2 separate regions of the Homo sapiens genome follow, and region 1 is linked to region 2. The links are contacts of gene promoters, found by promoter capture Hi-C in blood cells and fetal thymus (Javierre and others, 2016). All regions are on one chromosome and are shown on one strand. The core of a region is centred on a gene start or on the middle of the fragment in contact, and the rest is flanking DNA. Distances in the headings are between cores, read along the strand shown. Region 1 overlaps FAM53C (family with sequence similarity 53 member C). Region 2 holds the start of EIF4EBP3 (eukaryotic translation initiation factor 4E binding protein 3).

The links. Contacts are between HindIII fragments. The CHiCAGO score rates a contact against its expected background, and 5 or more counts as called.
Region 1: a fragment that was not itself captured here is called in contact with the fragment with the promoter of EIF4EBP3 in region 2 in 1 of 17 cell types (monocytes); the score reaches 5.3 in monocytes.

The regions. Positions count from the first base shown.
Region 1 is chr5:138,340,798-138,343,942 of GRCh38, reverse strand. FAM53C (family with sequence similarity 53 member C) reads right to left here. Exons shown (of 5, transcript NM_016605.3): 2 at 2,530-2,759; 3 at 2,077-2,134. The coding sequence starts at 2,607. Among named protein-coding and RNA genes, the nearest start is that of FAM53C, 4.1 kb to the right of the region's middle. The HindIII fragment of the contact is 5,325 bases long and covers 1-3,145 here.
Region 2 is chr5:140,545,976-140,548,977 of GRCh38, reverse strand. It overlaps EIF4EBP3 (eukaryotic translation initiation factor 4E binding protein 3), which reads right to left and starts at 1,316. Exons shown (of 3, transcript NM_003732.3): 1 at 1,138-1,316; 2 at 1-72. The coding sequence starts at 1,240. ANKHD1-EIF4EBP3 (ANKHD1-EIF4EBP3 readthrough) reads right to left here. Exons shown (of 36, transcript NM_020690.6): 35 at 1-72. RefSeq lists enhancers at 246-953, 1,104-1,193, 954-1,660, 1,661-2,369. The HindIII fragment of the contact is 7,257 bases long and covers 1-3,002 here.

The DNA of each region.
Region 1 (3,145 bases), core at 355-2,854, 2.2 Mb after region 2:
CGAAGTCAGACTTGATGGTGGCAAAATTCATACTGAGTGTATTTGGTCTATAGTTCTTCCCTCTACTAACCACTATGAGGGCAGGGACCATGAGTTCCTGCTCTATACTTATGACACAATACCTGGCTTTCAGCAAGTCTTTAATAAACAGGAGGAAGAGACTGAATGAACATGTTTTTGCCAACTCACTTCCCTTGCTAGGTATCCCAGAAAAGAAAATGAGATGCAGAACTGCTGAGCAGCACGAGTTAGGGAGTTCTGATTGTCCACCAGTGATGCCTCCATCTAAATGTCCCTACGATCAGGGGCCCTTTAACTCAGTAATTAATAATCTACGAATTTATACCTCAGATATATTTTCACATGTGAAAAAATGACATATGTACAAGGTTATTCACTACAGTTTCTTTTTTCTTTCTTTTTTTTTTTTTTGAGATGGAATCTCGCTCTGTTGCCCAAGCTGGAGTGCAGTGGGTGCGATCTCGGCTCACTGCAACCTCCGCCTCCTGGATTCCAGGGATTCTCCTGCCTCAGCCTCCTGAGTAGCTGGGATTACAGGCGCCTGCCACCATGCCCAGCTAATTTTTGTATTTTTAATAGAGACGGGGTTTCACCATGCTGGCCAGGCTGGTCTCGAACTCCTGGCTTCATGCTATCTGCCCACCTCGGCCTCCCAAAGTGCTGGGATTACAGGCATGAGTCACCACGTCTGGCCCACTACAGTTTTATGTATCCAAACAAGATTAGAAATAACCTAAATGCACATCAATAGAAAACTCATTAAATAAGCCACTGTACATCTATGCAGTGTAATAATATGTAGCTATATATAACAAGGGAATGAATACTCAGCATTCTGATAGGGAAAGATCTCCTAGCTATATTAAAGTTTTTTTTGTTTTTTGTTTTTTTTTTTTTTGAGATGGAGTCTTGCTTTGTTGTGCAGGCTGGAGTGCAGTGGCATGATCTGGGCTCACCACAACCTCCACCTCCTGGGTTCAAGTGATTCTCCTGCCTTGCCCTCCCGAGTAGCTGGGATTACAGGTGTGTACCACCATGCCAGGCTAATTTTTGTATTTTTAGTAGAGACAGGGTTTCACTGTGTTGGCCAGGCTGGTCTCGAACTCCTGACCTCATGATCCGCCCACCTCGGCCTCCCAAAGTGCTAGGATTACAGGCATGAGCCACTGTGCCCAGCAATTTTTTTTTTTTTTTGAGACAGAGTTTTGCTCTTGTTGCCCAGGCTAGAGTGCAATGGCGCAATCTTGGCTCACCGCAACCTCTACCTCCTGGGTTCAAGTGATTCTCCTGCCTCAGCCTCCCGAGTAGCTGGGATTACAGGCATGCGCCACGACGCCTGGCTAATTTTATATTTTTAGTAGAGATGGGGTTTCTCCATGTTGGTCAGGCTGGTCTTGAACTCCCGACCTCAGGTGATCTGCCCACCTTGGCCTCCCAAAGTGCTGGGATTATAGGTGTGACCCACTAGGCCCGGTCCCATTTTTTTTTTTAAAGGTACAAAATAATATATAGTATGCAACCTTTTGTGTTAAAAACGTGGAAATAAAATAGATGCAGCTAACCACCATGGCACATGTACACCTATGTAACGAACCTGCACGTTCTGCACATGTATCCGAGAACTTAAAAAAGAAAGGAAATAAATATATACATTTGCTTCTTTTTATATAAAGAAATTCTAGTCACATATACTGTATAAGAAACTAATACTTTTAGGGAGGTGGTAGAAGCTGGGTAGATAGGGAACGGGAGAGTAAGAGAGACTTTTCTCAGCATAACCTTTTTGTTGTTATTTTTTAAATTTTGAACCATGTGAATGTATTACCTATTCAAAAAATTAGATTATACAAGTCCCCACAAAGCTAGAATAAGAGCAAACCAACCAGATAACTTTCATGCTAGAACATGAAAGACAACTGTCAATCTCAGAAGTTGACCCTGGCAAGAAGGTTCTAGAGGTAGGCTCGCTAGCCCTGGTCACTGGAAACCAATGATAGAAATGTGTGGAGAGAGGAATGGGTACACACACGTACACAAACACACACGATGCCTTACCAGACACAAGCTGGAAAGAGTTCCCACAGTTGGAGATGTCTGCATGATCAGGCAAAGGCTAAGAAAGAGAGAATATCCATCATGATTTGGATTCAGGACACACTGACAGATTTCTAGGAAGCCCTCTTCAGTTCTCCTCTGCGATTCATGAGCTACAGGGATGTTAGGGACATTAAGTGTTCTTCCTCTTGTCTTCCCAAAGTTAGTAAGTCAAACAATCCACATCTTCCAACATCTCAAACCCTTCTCCACCCAAGTTTTGCTGTCCCTTCTCTATCGGTGGAAAAATCCCTGCCCCCTTCCTTTTGGGCTGGGTTTTGAGCCATTAGTGGGCTCTTCCAGGTTAAGTACCATGATTCATACAGCACAGGACAAGAGTAAAGTAATAGCAACAATCAGCCTCAGAAAAAAGGGGGAGGGGGTCGTGGAGAAGCAGGAAGACTGGTCTTTTACCAGACTGATGCTGAAGCGTGTGCATTTCAGCTCATCCAGAGTCTGCTTCTGTAGCTGCTCAGTGATCAGGGTTATCATGATTCTCCCCAGGATTTGACTTGCACACTTTGGAGCAAATGATGGATGTCTTCCCTGTTGTTCTTCCAGACCTCACTTGTGAGCCGTCTTCTGCCACTGCAGCACCATTCTAGCACCATTGGGACTTCCCTCTCCAGTCATGCCTGCTGAGTCTGCCAATTAGAGGGACCAGCCCCAAGTGATATTAGAGATGCACCTGGTCCAGAGATGGAAAATGCATGGCACACATACCACAGCACCCCTAAGCCAGGCCTCTGGCAGACATCAATTGATCACAGCTCTTTCCAGCTAAGCCTAAACACAGCTTCAGAAATTATGAACTTGGCAGTCCAGATATGAAATAAAATAGAGTTGGCAATCAAGTTGAAACTTATTTGCTACCCTTAAACTGGTTCATGCTCTGTTGTTTCTAACTGGAATACCAGCACCACTTAGAAAACAGCTGCTCAAGTGAGAGAGAGGGATGCCCAAATGATTATTTCCATCAAGATCAGCCCAGTATTTTATCTTCCAGTCAGAAGTGAAAAGAGGTACCCTT
Region 2 (3,002 bases), core at 67-2,566:
AGGGGGGTGTCCGGGCAATGGGTGAGTTCTTGCACTCCAGCAGGAACTTTCGGTCGTAGATGATCCTGGTGCCTGTCAAGGGGTTGGGACTGAGGTAAGAGTCAGGAGCTTGGGTACCGAGGTGACTGGGGTCCCAGACTCAGGCCTTTTGGGGCCTGGAGGTGAGGGTGGTGTCAAATTTCCCTGTGTATCAAAGGACATCGGCTCTGAAGCCCAGCTAGGTTCTCAGCAGACAAGCCTTCATAGTGCTTAAAATCTTCCAGACCTAACCAAGATGTGGGTATAAAGCAAGGGGGGCATCCCAGCTGGTATAGGCAGGGGCTTTATGTTTGGGAGAGCTTCAGATCTTGGCTCTAAGAGGAACACCAAACTTTGAGTTCAGGTACTTCATGCTGCTCCTCTACCACTCTGAAACCTCTGCTTTGGTCTCACCAGTGAAGGTGAGACCTAGACTAACAGCCTCAGGTGGTTCAAGAAGTGAAATAGCAGTTGTGAAGGGTTCCACCCAGTGCTGTTACCTGGGCTATCTCCTGCAGGGAGGAGAAACGTACTGTTCTAATCCTGACCCCTCCCAGGTCCTATAAGGTTCACACTAGCTCAGAGGAACTTGGCCCGCATAATGTCCTCAAAGGGTCCTGCCCTGTTCCTCCCCTCCGCTTCCGCGTGGCAGGAATCCCTGGGTCGGGAGCCCAGCAGCTCGTGATCCCAGGCTGCTCGCCCAACCAAACAGACGCCAGCCAGCAGCACAAAAACGGAGCAACTGCCCCAACTGTTCTAACTACTCCACTTCTCAAGACCCGGTGCTTCCGGCTGAGGTCACGCTCAGTAGGGGGCCCTGGCCCCTATTCCTAGGAAGCAAAGTCGCGAGGGGTAAGGAGCGTGTGTAAGGCTCCAAGAACCCAGGCCACAGTGAAGGATTACAGCCCAAACACCCGGAAGCTAGGCTCATGGCCTTGTTGCATCACTTAGAAGTTTTTGGGAACTGAGCTTCCGCTCCAAACATTCTCCCCCAAAGCTACAACCTGTAGAGGGGCCTGCGGACAAGTCTTAGGTCTGTCCCTCCCCTACCCCCGCCCCGCAACAACACGCACGCGCTAATATGTCCGCAGCCTGCGGACCCCTGCCCGGCCCGCTGACCTCCGGGGGTAGTGGCGTATAGCGTGCCCCCCGGCGTGGTGCTGTAGCAGTCGGGCAGCTGGTCCCGGCCCCCGGGAATCGGGCAGCTAGTGGACGTTGACATAGCGAGCGGGAGGAGCAGCAAAGTAACCGCCTGGCGTTGAGGTCGAGGAGCGCAGCTCTGAGTCTGAGGCGGACTCAGCCGACCACGTGCAGCTGCTGGCAACAACACTAGAACAACGTCACGCCCAGGGCGGGCCACCGGCCGTCACTCAACCCGACGGTCCCGCCCTATCTGCTAGGAAGCCAGCCCGGTTCAGAGAAAGCTGGAAATGCGTCCAAAGTCCCAGGCCCCACACCAGCTTCCAGTTCCTGCTGGCCCAGCGCTGGCCAACCTGCCTGAGTGCTGCAGCAGCTCAGCTATTTACTGTTTATAGCCGGGAGCTGGGGGCAGGTGAAGTAGGGCAAGCGTTTTTATCCTGTATTAGTTCACCCATTCCTTGCCAACTTTTGGATAGTAAAGCACTATGATTAGCCAAAGTCACACATCTTGCAGGAAGGGAAGCTGGGATTCAAATCTGACTGCATCTGATTCCAGGACTGTGCCCTTAAGCCCAGCTGTGTACTGCCTCCCATAAACAGTAACAGTACAAGGCCGGGTGCGGTGGCTCACGGCCTGTAATCCCAGCACTTTGGGAGGCTAAGGCGGGTGGATAGCTTGAGCCCAGGAGTCTGAGACCAGCCTGGGCAACATGGTGAAACCTAGACTCTACTAAAAATACAAAAATTAGCCGGGTGCGGCAGCATGCGCCTGTAGACCCAGCTACTCGGGAAGCTGAGGTGGAAGGATAGGTTGAACCCAGGAGGCGGAGGTTGCAGTGAGCGGAGATTGCACCACTGCACTCCAGCCTGGGTGACACATGCCTTGATGGCCTGGAGCACAGCAGGAAGGGGAAGGTCAGTGAGGGCTGGTCATCTTTCTGAAGAAGTGGTACCTGGACTAATAAAAGGATGAGTCAAGTTTGGGGGCTACAGCTGAGGCATCACCAGTCAGAAGGCCTGCCCTTTGATCTCTTTGCCAGTTAACTAAGGAGGGGCAGGGGGCTAGTGAGGAGGGCTTGGTCTTTAGAAGGAAAGAAAGGTCAGAGAGTTTGGCCTTGGAGTTTTTTTTTTGTTTTTTTTTTTTATGTAGACACAGTGATATGACAGGCTGGAGCAAGGTGGTGGGATTGGTGAAGATGTATATATGCTGGAAATCTTGAATTCATCAGGCTGTCCTGTTTGGCTTCCTCAAAATCAATACTGCCTCCACTGTCCCTTCCCCTCACCAAAAATTAAGTATAGACCACCTGACTGCATCCATTTATCAATATTAACTCAGCTCTGGCTTCATCAGATTTCTCCTTAGGTCTGATTTCTTCACTCATTTAAAAAAAGATTGCTTCTCAAACTATTTATTTTCTGAGATAGGGTTTTGCTCTGCTGCCTAGGCTGGAATGCAGTGGTGTAATCTCAGCTCAATGCAAACTCTGCCTCCTGGGTTCAGGCCATCCTCCCACCTCAGCCTCCTGAGTAGCTGGGACCACAGGTGCCCACCACCACACCGGGCTAATTTTTGGATTTTTTATAGAGACAAGGTTTCACCATGTTGCCCAGGCTGGTCTCGAATTCCTGAGCTCAAGTAACCTATCTGCCTCGGCCTCCCAAAGTGCTGGTGTGAGCCACCACACCTGGCCAGCTTCTCAAACTTTAATGTGCATATAAATCATCTGGAGATATTGTTAAAATGATAATTCTGATACAGTATTGGTCTGGGTGAGATTTTGGATTTTTTTTTTTTTTTGACACAGGGTCTCACTGTCACCCAAGCTGGAGTGTAGTGGTAC